7 separate regions of the Homo sapiens genome follow, and regions 1, 2, 3, 4, 5 and 7 are each linked to region 6. Evidence: promoter capture Hi-C in 16 types of primary human blood cells and fetal thymus (Javierre and others, 2016). All regions are on one chromosome and are shown on one strand. Each heading gives the region's core, a stretch centred on a gene start or on the middle of the fragment in contact. The rest is flanking DNA. Distances are from core to core; before and after follow the strand shown.

The links. Contacts are between HindIII fragments. The CHiCAGO score rates a contact against its expected background, and 5 or more counts as called.
Region 1: a contact is called between a fragment that was not itself captured here and the fragment with the promoter of DCAF11 in region 6, in 3 of 17 cell types (monocytes, non-activated CD4 T cells and naive CD8 T cells). The highest score is 5.4, in monocytes.
Region 2: a fragment that was not itself captured here is called in contact with the fragment with the promoter of DCAF11 in region 6 in 1 of 17 cell types (megakaryocytes); the score reaches 5.6 in megakaryocytes.
Region 3: a contact is called between a fragment that was not itself captured here and the fragment with the promoter of DCAF11 in region 6, in 1 of 17 cell types (total CD4 T cells). The highest score is 5.3, in total CD4 T cells.
Region 4: a contact is called between a fragment that was not itself captured here and the fragment with the promoter of DCAF11 in region 6, in 2 of 17 cell types (megakaryocytes and erythroblasts). The highest score is 6.5, in megakaryocytes.
Region 5: a contact is called between the fragment with the promoter of BCL2L2 here and the fragment with the promoter of DCAF11 in region 6, in 1 of 17 cell types (M2 macrophages). The highest score is 5.8, in M2 macrophages.
Region 7: a fragment that was not itself captured here is called in contact with the fragment with the promoter of DCAF11 in region 6 in 1 of 17 cell types (M0 macrophages); the score reaches 5.6 in M0 macrophages.

The regions. Positions count from the first base shown.
Region 1 is chr14:23,326,654-23,329,920 of GRCh38, reverse strand. No RefSeq gene overlaps it. Among named protein-coding and RNA genes, the nearest start is that of PABPN1, 6.8 kb to the right of the region's middle. RefSeq lists a silencer at 1,639-1,728. The HindIII fragment of the contact is 1,983 bases long and covers 940-2,922 here.
Region 2 is chr14:23,481,301-23,484,659 of GRCh38, reverse strand. No RefSeq gene overlaps it. Among named protein-coding and RNA genes, the nearest start is that of NGDN, 13 kb to the right of the region's middle. RefSeq lists enhancers at 1,075-1,831, 1,832-2,589. The HindIII fragment of the contact is 5,436 bases long and covers 1-3,359 here.
Region 3 is chr14:23,594,333-23,597,627 of GRCh38, reverse strand. No RefSeq gene overlaps it. Among named protein-coding and RNA genes, the nearest start is that of JPH4, 17 kb to the right of the region's middle. The HindIII fragment of the contact is 6,973 bases long and covers 1-3,295 here.
Region 4 is chr14:23,452,205-23,455,732 of GRCh38, reverse strand. No RefSeq gene overlaps it. Among named protein-coding and RNA genes, the nearest start is that of NGDN, 16 kb to the left of the region's middle. The HindIII fragment of the contact is 2,522 bases long and covers 1,015-3,528 here.
Region 5 is chr14:23,304,771-23,308,226 of GRCh38, reverse strand. BCL2L2 (BCL2 like 2) reads right to left here and starts at 1,394. Exons shown (of 4, transcript NM_004050.5): 1 at 1,333-1,394; 2 at 948-1,035; 3 at 28-467. The coding sequence starts at 459. It overlaps BCL2L2-PABPN1 (BCL2L2-PABPN1 readthrough), which reads right to left and starts at 1,394. Exons shown (of 8, transcript NM_001387346.1): 1 at 1,333-1,394; 2 at 948-1,035; 3 at 28-467. The coding sequence starts at 459. RefSeq lists an enhancer at 1-535. The HindIII fragment of the contact is 2,126 bases long and covers 22-2,147 here.
Region 6 is chr14:24,113,463-24,117,056 of GRCh38, reverse strand. DCAF11 (DDB1 and CUL4 associated factor 11) reads right to left here and starts at 2,280. Exons shown (of 15, transcript NM_025230.5): 1 at 1,764-2,280; 2 at 1,308-1,675; 3 at 13-140. The coding sequence starts at 1,462. It overlaps NRL (neural retina leucine zipper), which reads left to right and starts at 2,108. Exons shown (of 3, transcript NM_001354768.3): 1 at 2,108-2,335. RefSeq lists enhancers at 2,201-2,350, 2,591-2,730, 2,312-3,027. The HindIII fragment of the contact is 1,852 bases long and covers 1,021-2,872 here.
Region 7 is chr14:23,161,923-23,165,187 of GRCh38, reverse strand. All of the region lies in intron 3 of SLC7A8 (solute carrier family 7 member 8), which reads left to right. Among named protein-coding and RNA genes, the nearest start is that of SLC7A8, 20 kb to the left of the region's middle. The HindIII fragment of the contact is 1,337 bases long and covers 1,347-2,683 here.

The DNA.
Region 1 (3,267 bases), core at 682-3,181, 790 kb after region 6:
TCAGGAGTGACTGACAGAAATCATCCACCAAAAATAACCAAGCTTGCCCGAGGAAAGTAACTTTCTTTCCATGCTTCTTCCTCTAAACCTAGTCTCTTTTAAGTAAAATAGTCTGACTCTTATAAGAATAAAACTAAAGGCCGGGCATGGTGGCTCACGCTTGTAATCCCAGCACTTTGGGAGGCCGAGGTGGGTTAACCACGAGATCAGGAGATCGAGACCAGCCTGACCAACATGTTGAAACCCCGTCTCTACTAAAAATACAAAAAATTAGCCAGGCATGTGGCGCATGCCTGTAATCCTAGCTACTCAGGAGGCTGAGGCAGGAGAATTGCTTGAACCTGGGAGGTGGAGGTTGCAGTGAGCTGAGATGGCACCACTGCACTCCAGCTTGGGCGACAGAGTGAAACTCCGTCTCAGGAAAAAAAAAAAAAAAGAGGAAGAAAACTACCAGCTCCAGGTAAAAGGCAACACTATTGTTGTTACCGCCTTCTCCAGGACAGGAAAGGCAAGCCCAGGGTGAATAAGCAACTTTTGGGCACCTACTAAATGGCAGGCCCTGTGAGGCAGACACAAAGTCACAATTGATGCCCTCAAGAAGCTTGCATTCGGCCGGGCGCGGTGGCTCACGCCTGTAATCCCAGCACTTTGGGAGGCCGAGGCGGGTGGATCATGAGGTCAGGAGATCGAGACCATCCTGGCTAACAAGGTGAAACCCCGTCTCTACTAAAAATACAAAAAATTAGCCGGGCGCGGTGGCGGGCGCCTGTAGTCCCAGCTACTCGGGAGGCTGAGGCAGGAGAATGGCGTGAACCCGGGAAGCGGAGCTTGCAGTGAGCCGAGATCCCGCCACTGCAGTCCGCAGGCCAGCCTGGGCGACAGAGCGAGACTCCGTCTCAAAAAAAAAAAAAAAAAAAAAAAAAAAAAAAAGAAGAAGCTTGCATTCTAGTGGGAAAACAGAAATGTAGTTAGTTTCATTATAAAACCACAAAGTAAATATTAAACAGGGATAGGAACAGTTTGTCCTGACTGCAGGAGTGATTACTTCTGACTTGGAAATCAGGAAAGGCTTCATGTCTGTTGTACCTGGCTTACACTTGGAAGGATATGCGTGATTTTCATAGAAGAGTTGGAATGAGCATAGCAGGCTAGAGGGAACAGCATGAGGGATACATGAAAATAAATAACAACTACAATGCATAGTACATCAGGTGTAGGGCAGGATCTGGAAGAGAAATGTAATCAGGATCAGATTGAAAAAGGTTGTAGTTCCATGCTTGTGTTTGGACTTTGTACTTATTGGTGGCATCATAGAGGGCTTTTTTTGGCAATAAGAAGTTTGGAGGCTGAGCATGGTAGCTTACGCCTATAAACCTAGCACTTTGGGAGGCCGAGGCAGGAGGATTGCTTGAGGCCAAGAGTTCAAGATCAACTTGGCCAACATAGCGAGACCCTATCTTTTAAAGTACTTTTTTTAGGAATTTTTATTTTTCAAAAAAAAATTTGAAGCCAATACATCTGCCAGGACCCCTGCAATGATGATGGGGAGTTACTCAAGCAGTGAAAGTAGGAATAGAGAGAACAGACAAGATATGGTAGAATTGACTGAATATGGAAAACTAAACCAGAGAAGGGTCAAAACATGATTCACCCTCCAATACCCAACAATTTATGGGGATCTTTTAGAGCCAGCCATTTAGTGCCCCCTGGTGGACAGATGAGACCATCACAGCATTAACAGCAACAAGTCACTTAGGCTGTTTCATTCTTCCAGTAAAAAGTTTATATTGAACACTATCCAGACCCTCACTAATCAGCCTCTGCAGAAGCCACAGAGATCACGGCACTATTTTAGGTGAATCTAGTTAGGAGAAAAGATAGACCTCAAATGCCTAACCCATAACAGAAAGTAGAATAAATGACCAAATCCTAAAATATGTGGTGGATAACACTGACATGAGATTTTAGAAAATACTGCAATTTGAGAGGTGGGTTAAGGCTTCAGATATAACAGAGTTTTTTGTTTTGTTTGTTTTGAGACAGAGTCTCGCTCTGTCACCCAGGCTGGAAGTGCAGTGGCTGAGTCTCAGCTCACCTCAATCTCCACCTCCTATGTTCAAACGATTCTCCTGCCTTAGCCTCCAGAGTAGCTGGGACTACAGGTGCATGCCACCACACCTGGCTAATTTTTGTATTTTTAGTAGAGACGGGATTTCACCATGTTGGCCAGGCTGGTCTCAAACTCCTGACCTCAAGTGATCCGCCCACCTCTGCCTCCCAAAGTGCTGAGACTGCAGGTGTGAGCCACTGCGCCCGGCCACAGAGCCATTTCTTTAACATATGATTTTTGAAGAGCATCCAGGTCAGAGGCAATTGTGAACAAAACATCCTGAGAAGTAAATGAAAAAATAGTAAGGTTGAAATACTAAGAAATTCTATAGGTAATGAAGTCTGAAGGTTCAACCTGGCTAGTGATGTAGTGTTCAAGTTTTAAGACCAATCTGACACTGGAATAAAAAATGGAGAAATTAGGATGCCCAAGACAAAATTTAGATATGAAAACAGTGAAAGCCAGTTGTGAAGTCCTAATAAACTAATCCTGGCCAGGAGCTGTGGCTCACGCCTATAGGAAGGCCAAGCCAGGAGGACTGCTTGAGCTCAGGAGTTTGGGACAGCCTGGGCAACACAGCAAAACTGTCTCTACAAAAAATTAGCCAAGTGTGAAGGCAGGCACCTATAGTCACAGCTATGTAGGACACTGAGGTGGGAGGATCACTTGAGCCCGGGAGGTTGAGGCTGCAGTGAGCCACTGCACTCCAGCCTGGGTGACAAAGCAAGACCATCTCAAAAAAATAAATGATCCAATTAATATAAGTTAGCTGGACACATTAAATGGTTACTGCATGGTTGGAAAAACAAGCTTTCCGATTGTCTCTTAGCTAAGTGTATTTTGTCTTCTGCATTTCTTGGGCCCACCTTGAGGTAGAAAAGGTAGCTGGGTGCAGTGGTTCACACTTGTAATCCCAATACTTTGGGAGGCTAAGATGGGAAGATTGCTTGGTCAACATAGCGAGACCCCAAAGACAAGGTTACCCAGACCCCAATCCAAAGCTCTAGGGCTGCAGGCATGGATAGTTCATTTGCACGTAAGCTGTATCAGGAGCACACAAAAGCGCCATTAGGTCAGTAATTCGGCTATTCCTTTTTTTATTTTGAGACAGTTTCACTCTGTCACCCAGGCTGGAGTGCAGTGGTGTGAACTTGGCT
Region 2 (3,359 bases), core at 245-2,744, 630 kb after region 6:
GGGAATCAAGGAAAGAGGTCCATATTGTGGCCTATTCCTAGTATATACAGAAGTCAGACTCAGCACTACCATCCAGGGAGTAACTGGATGCTACTAATTCATAAAGAATAATCCAATAAGAGAAAAATTAGCCATCCTAGAAATTGGATAACTTTACAATAAAAAACACTGCTGAATTAGCTGGTTGTGGGGTACTGGTCTCACAATGAAAGGTCTCCAAAATAAAGTTAAGAAGCGAGATGAGGCAAGAGCTAACAGTCTAAAGAGTTTGGGCATATTCTGGAAAGGCTAAGCAATACAGGGCACTGTGGGCTGAATGGGGCAACCAGGTAAATTCAGCTGTGATAAAGGAACAACATGGAATGACAAAAAAAGGAGGCAGACTACAAGAGTGAGCCAAGGTCCTGCAGCCAGAATTGTGCTCAGCAGTGACCAGAGAGCCAGGATGTCCATCACATAAGTGTCACAACTGTCCTGGAAAGAACCTTCTGAGGACACAAAAGATCAGTAACAGGACATCTCCTCCAGTCTTCAAAACACAGGATAACGAAAGTAGAGGTATCCTTAGCAATCTAATCCAAAAGTTTCTGGATGAGCCATTATTATCTGAATTCTTGCTATTCCCTAGCTCCCATTTTCCCAGCATGTAGAACCCAAATCTGTAGATTCAGATAACACAGGATCGATCGCTTGCCAAGTGAACTCTCCTTATCCAAATCCAGGAACTGAATAGATGCAGACAGCAAAGGATATCTTCTGTCTCCCATCATGTTTCCCCTGTAGAGCCTCGTCATTCTCCCACCTACTCTTCGGTACTGACCCCTCAGTTCTCCTCACCCTGTTCTCTTCTAAGCCACCCTCATCTACAGCCCCCTTTCATTGGGAGAGTCATCTGTAAGATGTCAGGGGTAGAACAGATAACGAAAAAGGGAGTAGGGAAGAGTGTAGATTTCAGGTAGGGAAGTGAGATGGAGATCCTGCAGACAGAGAAAGAGAGAGACAGAAAGCAAGAGAGCCGGAGCTGGGGGAGGGGAAGAAGATGGCACTGCGGAAAAAAGAGCGCCACAAAATTAATTTGAGGAAGGGAACAGTAGAGGAGACGTTGGTGGAATAACAATCAGGCAGTAGAGGGCTGGGGAAAGGGGGAGGGCGACAGGGTGGGGAGGAATGATGTTGGCCGGGAGGGCCCTGCCTGCAGAGCAACAGCAGCACCACCTATGGGTATGGTGAAGGGCTACAGGCTGCAACAAAAGAGGTTCCCGCCTAGGCATGGGAGTCTGGGGTGCAGGTGGGGAGGAAGAAGCCATGGCTTTTGCCATTCAAATCTCTTGGTTACACAACATGCAGGCTAGAAGAATAAATAGTATATGGCTTTCCTGGGAAGAGAGGGACTTAAGGTAAGGGAGGGAAGACAGAGAACTCCTGGCTTTTTCCATTACAAGGGGGTTTCCCCTTCAGAATTCAGGCAGTAGAAAAGAGAAGAATATGAAGAGGGAGGAACACCAGGTACTGAAAGGAATGTGAGCACCTGCTTATTTCATTACCTGGAGAAAGGATTTTTATCTTTATTTCCAAGTGATTTCCTCTCCCCACTGGATATAAGAGAATACAGCTGCCTCCCTGGGGCCATGAATGCCCCTCACTCAGCTGCTTCCTCCCAGCACTGCCTCAAAACTCCCAACCACCATTAGAAACCCCCAGGGAGCCACCAAGGTCTAAGAAGGAAAGAAGGGAAGGGTTCCCCCCACCAAACAGACCAAGTGGGGGAGGACAGGGTGGAATGAAAGAGAGAATGCAAAAGCTCTGCAGAGGGAGGGGAGAGAGAAATGTGATCAGTAGTATTTGTTGTGCTTCCAGGGAGGAAGGATCTGTCACATTTTTAATAATAATAAATACATGAAGACAGATTTGCCAGCACTGCTCTGGCTTCTTGGGAAGTGTGGGGGAGGGGAAGTAATGCAGCTGCAGCACACACCAATATCTCCCCCTCCCCTCCCCCATTAGATAGGCTCAGTATTGCAGCAGCCTCCCCCTCCCCCTCTAACCGCAGTCCTCCCCTTCACAGCCCACCCTTTCCACGGTCCCGTCACACAGTTCTGCCCCTCCTTCCCCTACTTGTATCTCTACTCACTCCAACCCCACTCTGTCCTTTCAGTGCTGGTCCTCATTTAACACATGCTTACTCTAGCTGGAAGAAACCTTAGCACCTACATCTTAGATGAATGAATCTGTTCCCCCAATCCTGAGGCTCTGCTGTTTCCAATCAGTGCCCTTCACTAGCTGACAGCAATCTTCCCCTACACCCCACACAACACTCCCACAGATGTAATCCAGCACATTTCAGCATTTCCTGGATTCCACCAAAAAGGATTGCTTTTCTCCCCGTTTTAATCTCAATGTGACCTCCTTTCTCACATCCTTCCTTAAATATAATGGCCATCAAATGTGTTTGTGTTTAGGGGGTGTCAGGGCCTCAGGACTCAGTGACTACTGCCACCTATTGACCCAAGTTTGTTCACGATAGACCTTTAATACACTTCTTACACAGCGACGCTCTGTCATCTCAAAAGCATCAATAGCTTAAACATGCAAAGGCATGGCTCTGGGGGCTTCTCTGAGACCCTCTGAACAATGAGATCAAAGAAACACAAAAGCAAGACTGGGCAGAGAGCCAGAGCATTGATGCCTTTCCTCATGCAGAGGCAGAAAACGAGGCCCAAGGAATGAAAAAGCAACTTTAAGTCCCCTCAAGGTTCTCTAAGCAAAGATGAGTAGGGAACAGAGTTTTTCTTAAGGGCTGGTAAAAATTTCATGTATCATAATATAAATGATAAATGATGTTACCAATGGAGCAGGAGGCAGGATTCCACTCACATACCTCCATCAAGTTAGCCAAATCCTTGGCATGAATCTGGGATTTATGGACCTAAAAGATTCCAGGGAGGATGGGGGACACTCAGGGGTGTGTTTGACTCTCATCCAATCTGTACCAATCAGAACTGGAGACTGGACAAACTGGGCTCTGAAAAAGGGCAGGTCTACACCACGCAGCTCTATGGTTTAGCTGTGTCCCATTCACCAAACCAAGGAATGAGGAGCGTTTGAACTCTCCATGGTGCTGAAAATTGACACACTAATAATCTCCCCTGCAAACAAAACACAGTTTTCCTAATAAGGTATCTATGAAGACTGTTGTGAATTCCCAATAGACATTTCCCCAAGCCTTCATAAAATCCTAACAAAACAATGATTTTAAGGCAAAGACAGACCTTGGTCAAACTCTCTTCCCTGTCCCCTAAGATGAAAAGAATGAGGCAGAGATGTAAATTACTTCTACAGAATAAAGCTATCACATGACA
Region 3 (3,295 bases), core at 74-2,573, 520 kb after region 6:
TTGAATCCAGGAGGCAGAGGTTGCAGTGAGCCAAGGTCACGCCATTGCACTCCAGCCTGGGCAACAAGTGTGAAACTCCGCCTCAAAAAAAAAAAATGATAAATATCTATGCACCCACCAGTGGAGCTCCCCCAGGTATATAAAGCAAACATTAATAGATCTGAAAGGACAGATAGACTTCAATACAAAAATAGTAGGGGACTTCAACATCTCATTCTCAGTAAGGGACAGATCATCCAGACAGGAAATGAACAAAGAAATATCAGAATTAAACTATACACTAGATCAAATAGACCTAACTGACATTTAAAGAACATTTTGGCCAGGTGCAGTGGCTCACATCTGTAATACCAACACTTTGGGAAGCTGAAGCAGGAGGTTCACTTGAGCGCAGGAGTTCAAGACTAGCGTGAGCAACACAGCAAGACCCTATCTCTACAAAATATTTTTTAAAGAACATTTTACCCAACTGCTGCAGAATACACATTATTTTGACCAGTACATGAAACATTCTCCAAGATAGACCATACCTTATGTCACAAAACAAGTCTTAACAAACTCAAAACAGTAGAAATCGTATCAAATATCCTTTCTGACCACAATGGAATAAAACTAGAAATCAATAACAAGAGGAACCTCAGAAAATACACAAACACAAAGAAATTAAACATGCTCCTAAACAGTCAATGGTCAGTGAAGAAATTAAGAAAGACATTTAAAAATTCTTGAAACAAATGCAAATGGAAATACAATATACCAAAATCTATGGGACACAGCAAATGCAGTGCTAAGAGGGAATTTTATAGCAAAAAACACCAATATCAAAAAGTAGAAAGACTTGGCCAGGGATGATGACTCATACCCCTAATCTCAGCACTTCGAGAGGCTGAGGCAGGAGGATCACCTGAGGCCAGGAGTTTGAGACCAGCCTGGGCAACATAGCAAGACCACATCTCTACAAAAACTAAAAAAATTAGTTGGGTATGGTGGTGCGCACCTATAGTTCTTAGGAGGCTGAGACAGGAGGATTTCTTGAGTCCAGAAATCTGAGGCTGCAGTGAGCTATGGCCATGCCACTTCACTCCAGCCTGGGTGACAGAGCAAGACCCTGTCTCAAAAAAAAAAAAAATATATATATATATATATATATAAAGACTTGAAATAAATAACATAATGATACACTTCAAGGAACTAGAAAAGCAGGAACAAATCAAACCCAAAATTAATAGAAGGAAAGAAATAGTAAAGATCAGAGTGAGCCGGGCGTGGTGGCTCACGCCTGTAATCCCAGCACTTTGGGAGGCCAAGGCAGGTGGATCACGAGGTCAGGAGTTCAAGACCAGCCTGGCCAATATGGTAAAACCCCATCTCTACTAAAAATACAAAAATTAGCCGGGTGTGGTGGCACGTTCCTGTAGTTCCGGCTGTTAGGGAGGCTGAGGCAGGAGAATTGCTTGAACCCAGGAGGCGGAGGTTGCAGTGAGCTGAGATCACGCCACCACTGCACTCCAGCCTGAGTGACAGAGCAAGACTCTGTCTCAAAAAGAAAGAAAGAAAGAAAGAAAATCAGAGTGGAAATAAAAGAATTGAGACTAAAAAACAATATAGAAGATTGACAAAGTTAAAAGTTGATTTTTTGAAAAAATAAATAAAATCAACAAACCTTTAGCTAGACTAAGAAAAAAAGAAGTAAGACCCAAACAAATAAAATCAGAAATAAAAAAGGATACATAACAACTGAGACCCTAGGACTACAAAGAATTAGCCAGGTGCAGTGGCTCATGCCTATAATCCCAGTACTTTGGGAGGCTGAGGTGGGAGGATTGCTACAGCTCAGGAGTTTGAGACCAGCCTGGGCAACATGGCAAGACTCTATAACTACAAAAAATGTAAAAATTAGCCATGTGTGGTGGCATGGACCTATAGTCCCAACTACTCAGGAGGCTCAGGCAAGAGGATGGCTTGAGCCAGGGAGGTTGAGGCTGCCGTGAGCCATAATTGCACCGCTGCACACTAGTGTGGGCTACAGAGAGAGACTCTGTCTCAAAACAAAACAACAAAAAAAAAAGACTACAAAGAATCATTAGAGACTATTATGAACAACTATTAATACACACCAACAAATTGACAAATCTAGAGGAAATGGATAAATTCTCGGACACATAGAATCTAGAATCTACCAAGATTGAACCATGAAGAAGTAGAAAATATTGACAAACCAATAACAAGTTGGAGATGAAAGCCATAATAAAAAGTTTCCTGTCAAAGAAAAGCCCAAGATCCAATGGCTTCACTGCTGAATTCTACTAAATGTTTAAAGAATTATTACCAATTCTACTAAAACTCTTCAAAACAATTGACAAGAAGGGAATACTTCCAAACTCATTCTATGAGATTAGTATTACCCTGATATCAAAATCAAACAAGGACATAACTAAAAAGGAAAACTACAGGCCAATACCACTGGTGAACATAGATGCAAAAGTCCTCAGTGAAATACTAGCAAACTGAATTCAACAACACACTTAAAAAATCATTTCCCATGATCAAGCGGGGTTCATCTCAAGGATACAAGGATGGCTCAATGTACCCAAATTGATAAATGCGATACATCAATTAACAGAACCAAGAACAAAAACCATGTGATCATTTCAATAGATGCTGAAAAAGTATTTGATAAAATTCAACATCCCTTTATGATCTAAAAAAAAAAAAAAACCCTCAACAGGCCAGGCAAGATGGCTCACCCCTGTAATCCTAGCACTTTAGGAGGCCCACGCCAGCAGATCGCTTGAGCTCACGAGTTCGAGACCAGCTTGGGCAACACAGAGAAACCCCATCTACATAAAATACAAAAAAAGTTAGCCAGGCATGGTGGTGAACACGCACCTGTAATCCCAGCTACTCAGGAGACTGAGATGGGAGGATGACTTGAACCTGGGAGGCTGAGGTTGCAGTGAGCCCACTACACTCCAGCCTGGGCAATAGAAACAGACCTTGTCTCAAAAAATAAACAAACAAACAAACTCAACATACTGGATATAGAGAAAACACACTTCAGAATAATAAAGATCATGTATGACAAACCCACAGTTAACATGCTACTGAGTAGGGGGAAATTGAAAGCCTCTTTTTTTTTTTGAGACAGAGTCACCCAGGCTGGAGTGTGCAGTGGTGCAATCTCGGCTCATTGCAACATCTGCCTCCCAGTTCAAGCAATCCTCCCACCTCAGCCTCCCGAGTAGCTAGAATTACAGGCATGCACCACCACACCTGGCTAATTTTTTTTCTTTTA
Region 4 (3,528 bases), core at 1,026-3,525, 660 kb after region 6:
TCCTCTATAGGTAATTTTTTTCTCTTCTTTAAGATTTTCTCTTTGTCTTTGGTTTTTGCAATTTGAATATGATATGCCCAGGTATAGGGTTTTTTTTGGTATTTATCCTGCTTTGATATTTTTGTCTAATCTTCCTGCATTTATGGTTTGGTTTCTGTCATTAATTTAAAAAAATTCTCAGCTTTTTTTTTTTTTTTAGATGAAGTCTCGCTCTGTCACCAGACTGGAGTGCAGTGGCGTGATCTCGCTCACTGCAACCTCTGCCTCCTGGGTTCAAGTGATTCTCCTGCCTCAGCCTCCCAAGTAGCTGGGACTATAAGCACCCACCACCACACCTGGCTAATTTTTGTATTTTTAGTAGAGAGAAGGTTTCACCATGTTGGTCAGGCTGGTCTTGAACTCCTGACCTTGTGATCCGCTCGCCTCGGACTCCCAAAGTGCTGGGATTACAGGAGTGAGCCACTGCACCCAGCCTGCCATTATTACTTCAAATATTTATTCTGCCCATTTCCTTCTCCTTCTGGTATTTCCATTACACATAATTACATATTTTGTAATTGTCCCACAGTTCTTGAATATAGTTACTTTTCTTTTTGCATTTCAGTTTGGGAAGTTTCCATTGACATATCTTCAAGCTCATTGAATATTTCCTCAGCCATGTCCAGTCTACTAATCCATCAAGGCATTCTTCTTTTTGGTCAGTGTTTTTGACTCTAACGTTTCCTTTTGATTCTTTCCTAAAGTTCTCATCTCTCTGCTTTACATTACCCATCTGTTCTTGAATATTATCCACTTTTTTTCCATTAGAGTCCTTAGCATATTAATCATAGTTAATTTAAATTTCCACTCCAATAATGTATTAATCATGTTTTTTAATTTTCTGTATTTTATGAGGTTTTGACATCTTAGGGGCCTGCTAATCCTGGAAAGACTGCCTCTTCCAGAGCTAACTAATTTCTAGAGGCAGTAAACAACTTGCCCATGAGCATCCAGCAAACCAACCAATCCAAAGCTTGTATCCCTAACCACCTCCTTTATCTAACTCTTGCACACCAAGCCAGTACTTCCCCTGCCCTAATTAATCCCAGGGCCAGAGACCAGACAACTAGAGATCACTGCTGTAACACAGAGCCTGCTGAAATTGTCCAGACTTGTCAAAGCTAAGCTATTTACCTTGCCCTGCCTTCCTTTCCTGTGGGAAACACAATAAAGGCTTGTGTCCATGCTTTTCTCTCTCTGTCTACCTCCTGACTGAACCGGATGCTTCTCCATCTGGCCCTGTGTGGCATGAGTTGTCCCCTCCCCTTAAGAACTGTAATAAGCTCTTCTTTCAAGGCAGTTGTCTCCATGTTTGTCATTTTACCATACTTGATTGAAACAAAATCTTCAGTACATTTTAAAACAGATAATACCAAAATCTCTGCCACATCTGAGTCTAGTTCTGATGCTGGCTATGTCTCTTTGGATTGTATTTTTTCTTGTCTTTTAGCACGCCTTGTAATTTTTTGCTGAAAGCAGACATGGTAATAGGAATTGAGGTAGACTGTGTGTGAAGTTTTATTTTTATTTTTATCTGACCAGGAGTTAGACTGTGTTTAGTTTGCTGCAGCAGTAGGTGTCAAAGATTTTAATTTCTTCTAAAGTCCTTGTGTTTGCCTCCTCTGTTGTCTTTGAGTTTCCTTAGAAACTCCTTCGTAAATAGAATCTAAGCCTTGCAGCCCTGTCAGCTATAATCCACTTTTACTATTCAGGAGTCCTGTTGATGTGGTAGCAAGATACTGGGTAGGAGAGCATTCTATAGTCCCATGATTGGAGCTCAGTATTTTAGTGGACCTGTGACTCTAGACTGTAACCTTCATAATTGCTTCTTAGGGTATTTTTTTGTTTTGTTTTGTTTTGTACCTCATATGTGAGATAAGAAGTCCAGAATGAATTGTTTCTTAGGGTATTTTTTTGTTTTGTTTTGTTTTTTACCTCATATGTGAGACAGGAAGTCCAGAATGTGATGGAGCTAGATAATTTCCCTTTCCCCAAGTAAAAGAAGACATCGGCAAAGGCTTTCCCCCTGCTGGATAGGCCTTAGTTGTGGAGAAAGCTCTGGTTTTATTTCTAAATGGTCACTTTACCCTCGCCCTGCCAAACATAAGGATATTTCTCTCCATTCTTCATCATGAGAACCTGGTGGGAGGTAAAACTCATGAAAGTGTGGGTTCTCCCCTTAGACTGGGGTCCCAGGAGTTTTTAACTCTCAAGCTAATTCACGCTCAGCCTCTGGCAATTCATCGAAGTTACCATTTAGGTGTTCCTGTCAGTTACTGGTTCCAGCACCTCCTGCTTCAGGTAAGCTGGCTTGTATTCTCCGTATTCACCCGTCTCTCCAGTTTTCAGGGTGATAGTTTGTCCTGTAGCCAAAATTCTCTGATAGAACTAAGAAAAGTTGTAGGTTTTCAGTTCAGCTTTCTTCTTGCTTTGAGAATGAGAGTGACCGACTTATAATCTCTTTACATGTTGGAGTGTTCACAATCAGAAGTGTTCCCACTAGATTCTATGTTAGTAACATGCCTTCGTTTTAAACTAAAACATTTTGTACATACTTATTTTTCAACTATAAAAATGTTATATTTATTAAATTAAAATAATAAGTATTTCAATTTAATTACCAATTATGACTCTATATAGGTATCACTATAACCATGCTGTCTATATCAAATATTCAAATAAACACATTATAATGTTAAATTAGTGTGAGAAAAACGCACTGGAGCAAATCAATCTATTGACAACAACTAGTTTGGTGATGTTTGTGTATACACTAGAAACAACACATATTCTTGATATGTTACTATAATACGACAATATCTTATGTTGATCGTTGAAGTAAAACAATCCTACCAAAACAACAAAGCTGTGTTTTACCGAAAGTATTTTACACTGCTTTAGTTTTTTAAGAGCTTTATTGCGGTATAATTTACATAGCATAAAATTCACCCCTTTTATACAATTCAATTATTTTTAAGGAAAATTTACATTTGTGCAAGCATCACCACAATCCAATTTAGAGCATTCCCAATGCTCCAAAGGGATCCCTTACACCCATTTGCAGTCCATTGCCATTTCCACCACCAGCTTCAGGCAGCCACTGCCTTCTGTCTTCATAGATTTTCCTTTTCTGGACATTTCATAGAAATGGAATCATAAAATATGTGGCCTTTTCATCTGGATTCTTTCATTTAGCATGTTTTTGAGGTTAATCCATGTTACATTAATAACATGTATCAGTACTCATTCCTTTTTATTGCTGAATAATATTCCATTGTATGGATGTACCACATTTTGTTTATCTGTTCACCTAATGATAAACATTGGGATTATTTCCACTTTTTGGATATTATGAATAATATCCAAGCGTTTATGAACAAACGCTTGTTTGAACTTGTTTATATAAGTCTTTGTGTGGATATATACTTTCTTTTCTATTGAGTAAATACCCAAAAGTGGATGGCTGAGTTATTTGGTACATGTATGTCA
Region 5 (3,456 bases), core at 145-2,644, 810 kb after region 6:
CAGAGCGGCAATTGAGAAGCTTCTTACCCAGCCCCCACTGCTGTGGATCCAGTCAGCCAGCTGCGTCTCCAGGTAGGCCACCATCCACTCCTGCACTTGTCCCACCAGTGGTTCCATCTCCTTGTTGACACTCTCAGCACACAGTGCAGCCCCAAAGACAAAGAAGGCTACAAGGCGGCCCCAGTTGGGGCCCCCTTGAAAAAGTTCATCGGAGACCTGGGTGAAGCGTTGTTGGGCTGAGCCTGGGGTCACATGCAGCTGAGCCGCCAGATCAGAGAAGGTGCGCCGGAAGCGGGTCTCGAACTCATCTCCAGCTGCCCGCATGGCTTGGTGCAGCGGGTCAGCTGCTGGGCCCTCCCCGGGGCCAGCTCCACAGACATAACCCTTCTGCCTCAGCTTATAACCTACAAAGTCTGCCACCAGAGCCCGTGTGTCTGGGGCCGAGGCTGGGGTCGCCATCCGGGCGGCTATAAGAGGCAAGGATGAAAGACTGGCATGAATATATGAAGAGAGAATCAGAAGGAGCACTTCTGGTTTGACCAACCCAGTGAGATGAGGAGGAGAGAGGAAATGCTCAGGACTCACTGGACAGGGAGAGGCAAGAACAAGGGAATTAAGTCATGATATGAGACTAGGCTGTGAGTGGCTGGCCATTACATTCCTAATATGCCAAATTAAATGTAAAACAAGTAAATTTTCTGTTTAGGATACTTTAGATTCTTTTCACAATAAGACAACGTCAGCTCAATGACACCCCTACAACACCCCCACCCCCGGGTCTCCTTAGTCCACACCTTCTTGGCTAGAGGAAGGGTCTTAGGACCTCCCCAAATGCAAGATGTAAAGATGTTGGCAGAGACACAAGATGAGGGGGAGCAGATGGGCTGAAGAGAAAGGTGGGAGACGCAATGGGTTACTCCAGACAGAGAAAGGAAGGAGACACTCACCCAGCCGGGATGGCAGCTCTTAAGACACAGCACTGGTGGCAAGGAGCCCCCAGCTGGGGCCTTTCATCCTCCTGGCCAGCGTGGAGCCCTGGAAAGGGGAGGGGGAGATCAGAACCAGGAGGGGAAGGCCAGGGATCAGGTTCTGGCCTGGGAAGGGCTAGGGTTGCAGCTCTGGGCCTAGGCCCCTGCCCCCAACGCTCTACCAGCTGTGTGGCCGAATCCATGTTTAATGACTGTCCTCCCGGGAAACCCAAGGCCAAGGGCTTCCTGCCGACACCATCTCTATTCCCGGTTCCCCCTAGTGCAGCCCAAAGGCCCAGCTCCTCCCTTACCCCCACCTCAGCCAGTCTCCAACCCCGCCCGCCTGCCAGGTTAGGGATCTCACGGGTCAGGCCGCTGCCGGGATCCGGGCCGTTTCCTGGTGCAGGAGCTGGGAGGGAGGGAGAGAGGGAGGAAGGGAGGGAAGGAAGGAGGGAGGAGAAAGGGGGGGGCAGAGGGAGGGCCCGGCGCCGGGTGATGATGGGGCCCAGAGATGCGTCCAGAGAGAGGGGCGGGGCTGGGACGCAGGCCTGCAAAGGGCCACTACTCAGGAAGAGGGAGGGCTGCTGAAGGCAAAGAAGGGCTGGCTGAGAGGGCACGGTGGGCTGGGCTGGGCTGGGCTCCTGAGCCTCTAGGCTGCCCAGAGAAATATGCCGGACTTCGGGACATCTCGGGGCAAATTTAGCATTTTCAGGAGGTTTCCGATGTTCCATGCACTTGTTGAACTTTTCCAGCCCTGAACTGTGTGCCTGGAAAACAGGAGCAGTTCCCATTAAGCTGGGAACCGTCTACCAGGTGCCTTACCCTTATGGGGCTAGCAGACACCACATAGACACCAAACCTTTCCCATCTTTTCTCCAGGACCTTTAACCCAGTGTTCTCTTTGTGGGCTGGGCTTCAGCCAGGCATTAGGGAGCCAGGACTTGGATCACAAGCAGTTTCTCTCGGTACTTTTCTTTAATTCATCTTCTTTTGTAATTAGATTGATTTTAGTGGGGTTTTTTTCTTTTTCTTTTTTTTACCCAACACACAAACTCATTCTCATTATGAAAAAAATCAAACAATAAAGACGTGCGGAGTAATAAAATACAGGTTCTCAAACACACACACACATACACACCCAATTCCACTTCCCTCCCTGCAGGTTGCCAGTGTTAAGCTTGATGTTTATCCTTCCAGATTACATATATATGGGGCCATTATTTATACATGGCAGTATATTTATACAGGGCAGGTCACAGGCGTGAAGCAGTCTGACCATAGCTGATCCACATGAGGGCACTCACAGCCAGCCCCCTGGGCTCTTGGATCTGGCACTTTTTTAAAGAGTGCCCCAACCAAAGGCCAGAAAGAGGCAACCTAATTCTCCTATTCTGCTAGCTCCCTTTGCTTCTACCTCCAATCCAAGCCTCTGTATTACCATCTTCCCTTATGGTCACTGGAGAAGCAAGGTCTTTTCTGCAGCAATAACAGTAACAACTAGCTGGGTTCGGTGGCTCATACCTGTAATCCCAACACTTTGGGAGGCCAAGGCGGGTGGATCACTTGAGGCCAGGAGTTCGAGACCAGCCTGACCAACATGGCAAAACCCCATCTCTACTAAAAATACAAAAATTAGCCAGACGTAAAATACAAAAATTAGCCAGCCTGTAATCCCAGCTGCTCAGGAGGCTGAGGCATGAGAATCACTTGAACCCAGGAGGCTGAGATCATGCCACTGCACTCCAGACTGGGTGATAGAACGAGACTCTATCTCAAAAAAAAAAAAAGGTAAAAACTAACATATTTTGAGGAGTTATTAGATGCTGTGCTTTTTTTACATGTGTATTTTTTCCTCTCACCAGTCCTTATGCTGTTTTATCCTCATTCTATGAATGAGGAAATTGAGGTTTGGAGAGGTTAAGTGATTTTCCCAAAGCCATAGGCTGATATGTAAGAAGCTAGCACAGCCATCTCATGCTGTAACTTTGACACTATCGCTTCAAGATCACCTCTTGCCTTCACATAGTCAATATGGTTCTCATAGTCTGAATCCACACCATTTACAAGTCCATACTCAATTCTCTCCTCTATTCTAAACACACAGCCTATTACACTCCTTTATGGCTGTATCCTTTCAACCATCCTCATTTCATTTTTGCTCTTAGCCTGATCATTCTGGCTGCCACCAGCAAGGTTGCCCTCTTCTTTAGAGAATAACCTAGTCCAAGTCTTCATTTGCACTCCTGGTTTATTTGTTTGTTTGTGATACAAGGTTCTCACTCCATGGCCTAAACTGGAGTGCAGTGGTACAAGCACAGTTCACTTCAGCTTCCACCGTCTAGGCTCAAGCAATCTTCCCACTTCAGCCTCCCTGGTAGCTGGGACTAGAGGTGTACTGCACCATGCTTGGTTAAATTCATTTTTTATAGAGATAGGGATCTCATTATGTTGCCCAGACTGATCTCAAACTCCTGGGCCAGCTTGATTG
Region 6 (3,594 bases), core at 1,031-3,530:
TTTTCCTCTTACCAGGTGGGTTGTATCGATCCCCAAGACGACCATCCCAAGCTCTGTCATTCTCTTCCTCTGAGTCCAAGAGGGCCTGAATGAATTGTAAATTTGCTGCACCTCCTCCCTGCACCAACCTCACTTGGCCTCTGTGGAGAGACCCCCATTATAAAGGAGGGGACTTCTTCCCCCAAACCAACCAAATTCAGAGTCAATGGCTATCTAGCTCTTAGACCACTTGGTACTCATTTTGAGGTTTGAGGCTGACTAGACCTTGGCTGTTATTTTTGGTCTCCTATAAAACACAGTAGGAAAGAGAGTTTTACTCTTACAGCAAGAGCAAGACCAACATGCTGTGGACGTGACCTACTAAGTTGACCTCCCAGCGAGCTAAACATTCTAACATCATTTCCTTAGAACAAGAGCAAGACCAATACGCTGTGGACATGACCTACTAAGTTGACCTCCCAACAAGCTAAACATCCTCACAGCATTTCCTTCTGAGCCTCTGCCTGAGAAGTCCACCACAGAAGACAATATTCTAAGCTGGGTGCGGTGGTGTGTGCAACTGTAGTCTTAGCTACCTGGGAGGCAAGGATTGCTTGAGCCCAGGAGTTGCAGGCTGTGGTGTGCACTTGATCACACCTGTGAATAGCCCGTTCTCCAGACTGGGGAACACAGTGAGCCCTGTCTATGTCTACTAAAAACAACACAAAACACAAACAAAAAAGAATACAATATTCTGAAGGGACCCCCAAACCCATCTTCTCCTCAAAGAGCCATAAGCAAAGAAAGAAAGCCAGCTGCACCCTTTTCCAGTCAATTCCAGGTGGTCTCTCCCTTCAAGGCATTCTTTCCTCAAGAACAGGTTAGAGTCAGGGCAAATTAAACTTGTTTTTCAAGTAAATCGAAGTGGCCTCATATCATGTGTCAACTGCCTTACTAAAAAGTTCAACACTCCCTTCCCATCTCTTCACCCCTTACATCACTCCTTTCCCACTAGGACCCCCCCCTTTTTTTTTTCAAGCTTACTTGGAAAATAGACTATATTTGTGTAGTCACAGAGACAGGCTCCCTTGAATAGCCCCTCAAACACATGAGCAGGTCCTCTTGGTGACCCTCCCTAGGTAAGAACCACTCTTACTGGGTATGGAGCTGAGTGCCATGGGTGCCCAGCAGGGAAAGGCTGTTCAGCTCAAACAGAACAGCTGTCCTGAGCGAATCCCATTTCCTAACCTCTGTAATTTTCCTGCCTGGAGTTGGGATCAAGGCACTGTGGTAGCACCTGCTGGGGGTCACACCAGAGGGTAAGTTACCTGCGGAGGAGATAGGCCAGTACCTGGGCCAGATCCACATCTTCATCCTCTTCTTCCTCTTCCTCACTCCGACGCAGGCCAGCCCCTCTTCGGGGCAAGCCCTCGGAGGGGTCTCCGGACCCGGATCCTGCACTGCTGCTGTTCCGCGATCCCATCTTCTGGTCACAGCATTCTTAGGTCCTGTGCGGGGGCTCCTCCTGTCACCTCCTTGGGTTTGGTGAAAGCAAAGCGTGCTCTAGAAATACCAGGGTCTCCTGAGACGGGGTAGTAGCTATCTCTAGGAGGGTGACCCTTCCTCGGGGCTGAGATCCCTTTTCTTTAGCCTATGCCAACTACCAAGGCGTCGGGAACACAAACCTTCTCCAATCCTGTGAAGCAAAGAAAGCAAGAGTGAACCGTAGTGCGCTACCCTAGCTCACCAACTGAAGAAAGATTTGTTTTCTACACCAAACTCACCTATCGAAGTCCCCGGACTGGGGAGCGGGAGGGGTGTTGGGCGGTGTTGGATTTCCAGGTAACCTCTCTGACCGACCAATCGAAATCCCTCTCGGAAGAAAGCGCTTCACTAGCTTATCTCATCTAACCAATTAGAAGCCTTAGGACTCAAAGACCCTCGACGCCCCCACCTTATCGACCAATCAGAGCGCCCCCTTACAAAGGCCGGCAGCAGTGACAGCCAATGAAAATAGAATTTGGCCTAACACCCCTCCTTCCTCGCCTCACGCCCACGTGGTGCGCCGGGGGTGTGTACGCCATGAGGGGGAGGAAGCCGAGAAGCACCTCCCACTGAAGCCGGCGGTAACCGCCCCACGCGAGACCACCCACCAGCCAGGAGCGGTCGCAGGACCCGCAGCGGCGCGAGGCCTTGTTTACACCGACTGCCGCCACTGCGTTGGCCAACCGCTCCTCCGTCACGCGCTTCGCTCGTCACGCATCTCGCGGCTTCCTGGCCGGCGGGCTGCAAACGTCACACGACGGCCCCGCCCCCTTGGCCAGCCAACTGGACAGCGGAGCACGATGATTGATAGGTAGGCGGGAGAATGCGCGAGGTGCCTGAGGGGAGGAGAAAGTGCACACCCAAGGAGGGCTGTTAGCTCTTGCTGGGGAGGAGTAAGTGGGAACTGCCAGCTTCCTGAATCAGAGACAGCCGAACTAGGCGTAACGGCTGAGAGGCGGGGCTTAAAAAAGAAACGTTTGGTGGTTCGCTACCGAGAGGTATTTTAGCAAGGGATATAATTTACTGTCTGTCCCTAAAGATCATTTGGCATCGCACTTTTCAGACAGTGCCCAAGGGCCTCCTTTCTCCCCACTGCTTCCCCTGTCCAGCTGGAGCCGTTCTTCTGTCGCTGGCCGCAGCTCCAGTCGGTTCTGCCCTAAGGGGTGCCCAGCGTCCCAGTAGACCTCCATACCGTCCTTCCGGGCTTAGCTTTTGGAAGCCTTGCTCTTGGGACGGTCCCCTTTTAGACCTCCCTTTATCCGGTCTGACAATTTTTTAAGACAATCCCTGGCTTTCCGCCGCGGTCTTTGCAGACGTTCCCTAATACACGCGTCTTTCTGTCAAAGCTTTTCCGGTTCCGCTGTCCCCTTTGACGCTCCCTTGGCCCTCCGGGATTTGCAGACCTTCGCTAGTCCCTCTGTCCTCGCGGTGCCTCTCCGCCCCCGGCCGCGGGTCCAGGGTGCGCGCTCGCCGCCTCCTGCCCCCTCCTGCCCCCTCCTGCGGGTTTATGAGTAACAAGCCTGAGTCCAAGGCCGGGAGTTGCCACATCTCTGATCCTCGCCCTGGCTGGGTGGGGACGTGTGGGTTGAATGACCTTGCTGTCTCGGGCTCAGAGGCTCAGGGTCCGAGCTGAACTTCATTCCCTGCAGCCTGCACTTCCTTGGGAAAGCTGCGAGCTTCCCTCCGCCCGCTCCTGAGGGCAGGGATGGGAGCGAGGGCTCGTGGCCTTCTTGGGCCCTCCTGGGGCCTCTCCCAGTGAGGGCGAGGGTTTGGCCAGCTTTCGGGCGACGTCTCCTAGTCTCTAGATCCGGAGACCTGAGCTTGTCACCAGGGCTAGCTTTGATGGCCTCTGCGCTTAGAAGGGTCCTGAATGTTTGGTTTAATGTTCTAGTGTTAACGGTCTTGAAATTATTAGTAATTTTAAAGCAAGTGCCTGGTATTTTCATCTTGCACTCGGCTCCACTGATTATGTAGGCGGTCTGCTGGGCGCCCATCCTCTATTGCCAGATTACTTACTATCTGTGCTTTAACGTTTATTGAGACTTTAGGATTCCGTGGTTTCTGGGTTAT
Region 7 (3,265 bases), core at 766-3,265, 950 kb after region 6:
GGAGCGCAGCCGCATGATCATAGCTCACTGCAGCCTTGAACTCCTGGGCTCAAGTGATCCTCCTGCCTCGGCCTCCCAAAGTGTTGTGGTTACAGGTGTGAGCCACTGCACCCAGTCTGAGGGACAGCCTCTTTTATCCTCCCTGGAGGTCTACATGTCTCTGACTCTCCTAACTTCTCTCCATTTTTTTTTTTTTGAGGCAGGGTCTCACTCTGTCACCCAGGCTGGAGTGCAGTGGCGTGATCTCCACTCACTGCAACCTCCATCTCCCAGATTCAAGTGATTCTCCCACCTCAGACTCCCGAGTTGCTGGGATTGCAGGCGTGAGCCACCATGCCCGGCTAATTTTTGTATTTTTTGTAGAGATGGGGTTTCACCCTGTTGGCCAGGCTGGTTTTGAACTCCTGACCTCAAGTGATCCGCCCGCCTTGGCCTCCCAAAGTGCTGGGATTACAGGCCTGACCCACCTCACCCTGCCTCCTTTTCTTTTCCCCATTACTTTTCTTTCAATTTCCTACAAGTGTGTTTTTTATGAATGGATTCTGCATACAATTGTCTGGTGTTAAAAAAAAAAAAAGAAAGAAACTTAAGTAGCTCCTTGGAGGCACTATGATTTTCACTGGCAGGGTTCTTGACATTACGCAAAGCACTTTCACCTATATTATCTGATTTGGGCCTAATGACAAGTCCATGAGGTAAGCTGGGCCAGTGTTAACATTTTCCCAGAACAGATAAGGAAACAGAGAGCCAGGCAAATGACTTGCCCAGGGAGGCAGGCCACGTGGAGTGCAAGGGCTCCTGATTTCTTGTCTGTCCAGTGCACTGCACTGTGCTGGCTACTCCCAGCTGCTCCTAGGAAGATTACTCTGGCTTCTTGGCAGTAGGTCCACATCTACTTCTACCTCAACTTGTCAAGTCACACTCTTTTAACTCTCTTGGAGAAGGGTTTGTCCATGATCCCTGCCCTTGATGAGTTTTCTAACTAGGAGAAAAGCCATATAGACAGATACTGTGGTTAGGATTCAATTGCAGTAAAAATTCAGAGAAGGGAGCTAGGCATGGTGGTGTACACCTGTAGTTCCAGCTACCTGGGAGGCTGAGGTAGGAGGGTCGATTGACCCTGGGAGTTCTGGGCCACAGTGAGCTATGATTACACCTATGAATAGCCACTGCACTCCAGCCTGGGCAACATAGTGAGATCCTGTCTCTAAAAAAAAAAAAGAAATTAAAAACAACAATAACAATAAAATTCAGAGAAGGGGAAAAGATCTCTGTGGGCTGGAATAGGTTAGAGAGGCTTCCTAGAGAAGTTCTGCAGAGCCGTATTTCTAGGAAGTCTCAAAGCTTTATCTCTGATATTAGTCATCTCAATGGATTGGGGTATTTTACATCTTTAATCAAAAACTAATTTCTAAAGTAAATACTTAGATATGTTTCAGGGGCTCCACCTCTAGGGTTCACTGGGTCCCTGCCTTCCCATAGCTTCTAACACACATACACTTAGCTGAGGGCAGTGATCATCCTGGCCATATGCTTTCCCAGGTCCTGACACTTTTCCTTCTGTCCTGTTACGGGATGGGGGAGGAAGAGATCACTCACCCACCTCAGTAGCCTCTTACAGGGCAGGCAGCTGGGACCCAAGAGGCGGTCTCCTTGGCAAGTGAGCCCTCTTTGGCAGTGCTGGTCAACCCTGGGACAGACCTCCACCACCCAGGCCATTTGCAATATGGGGCCAAGACATTTGTTTGGGGGTGTATTCCTTGTGTTTGATCAGGCCTGCTCACAGATCTGGAGGCAGAGGAATGCAGGCTCCAAAACCAGGCTGCCTGCGCCTGCATCTCCAGTCCACCATTTCTAACTGCAGTGGTGAGTGCTGGGCAAAATCACTCGTCCACCCTACTGTGAGATGGGGAGTGTAATCCTAGCTGCCTCAAGAGGTCGTGGTCACAAGGACTGCAAGAGAGAAGGAAGGGGACACCCTCAGCACAGTGTTAGACACCCAGCACCCCAGTCATATCAGTCACTGGGGGTGGGCAAGATGCTGGGGCCACTTTATCCTTGCATCCTAGCTGGATCCAGAGTTGAGATGGGGAGCGGGGAAGAGCGAGGGCGTGGGAATGCAGGAAGAGTGCTGTTTCTGCCATCAGATCAGCTAATGGGAGGGTGGGAGGCAAGGCCACAGAAGTGCTAGCTACTGCTGTTTTGGTGTTTCTTTGCACACAGACAGCTTCCTTTTTCCTGCTGATGCTGCTAAAGTGTCTCAGACAAGAGGCCACCCTTACCCTTCTACTAGAAATCAAGAACCCCCGAGGCTGTTCAGTTTGCACCCTAGGAGAGGAGCCAGGCCACAGGTTGAAGAAGTTCCCAGGCAGCCAGACCCCATGGCTTTCTTTGCATTCCCCAAATCTGCCAAGGGTTTGACCTCTTGCACAAAGACCCTCCAAAGTAGTGTAGCCTTTTTGGCGTCCCCTCGGACCAGAAAGGTCCAAACTCTCCTAGGAGATAAGAACGCCACCTGCCTGTAGCCCTGCTCCAGAATGACATGTTGCACAGTCCTCTCCACAGCCTTCCCCTCACCTAGACACTGCAAGGACCAAGCCAAGGAGAAATTTAGAAACTGGCTGATGACAAAAATGACAAGACCCCCCTCCTCTATTCCTGTAGTCAAAGATTCAATAAAGCTTATCTAAGTTTGGCCTCTGCCTTCTCAGCAGAACTGCAAGGAAATTATCTCCAACTTAACAGTAGCCAATCTTGTCCTCTAAAGACAGGAATTTTCAATGTCCTTGAAATATGGGTTCAAATATTTGTCTACCTTCATAAGCAGAAAAATCTTAAATCCTTCTTATTCCCAAGCGTAGTCTTCCTTATTTCCTTTAGGGGAAATGGAAACCAGCTCCACACCTGTCCCGCTGCAGTGTCCCTTTCCTCCTAGCTGTGAAGGCCATGTGGAGCTGCCATCCCTCTGCCCGGCAGGGTGCACACGTACATGCATTAGCTATAACAAACTTCCTCTCTCCCTTTCCTTATACCTGACACTCCCAGCTGCTTTGAGTCTGTGTACAGAGGTTCTGTTTTCCGGTTTGTTGAATACTTTTTTTTTTTAATCCACTTCTATAGGCCCCTCAAATCCTCTCTTCTTTTTTTGAATTTTATGGCAGGCCATACCAGATAAGCATCCAATCCTCTCATACGGTATTCAGTAAAACAAGAACCAAGCTGTCAGGAAGGCTTGGTAGATGCTTTTTTTTTTTTTTTTTTTAGA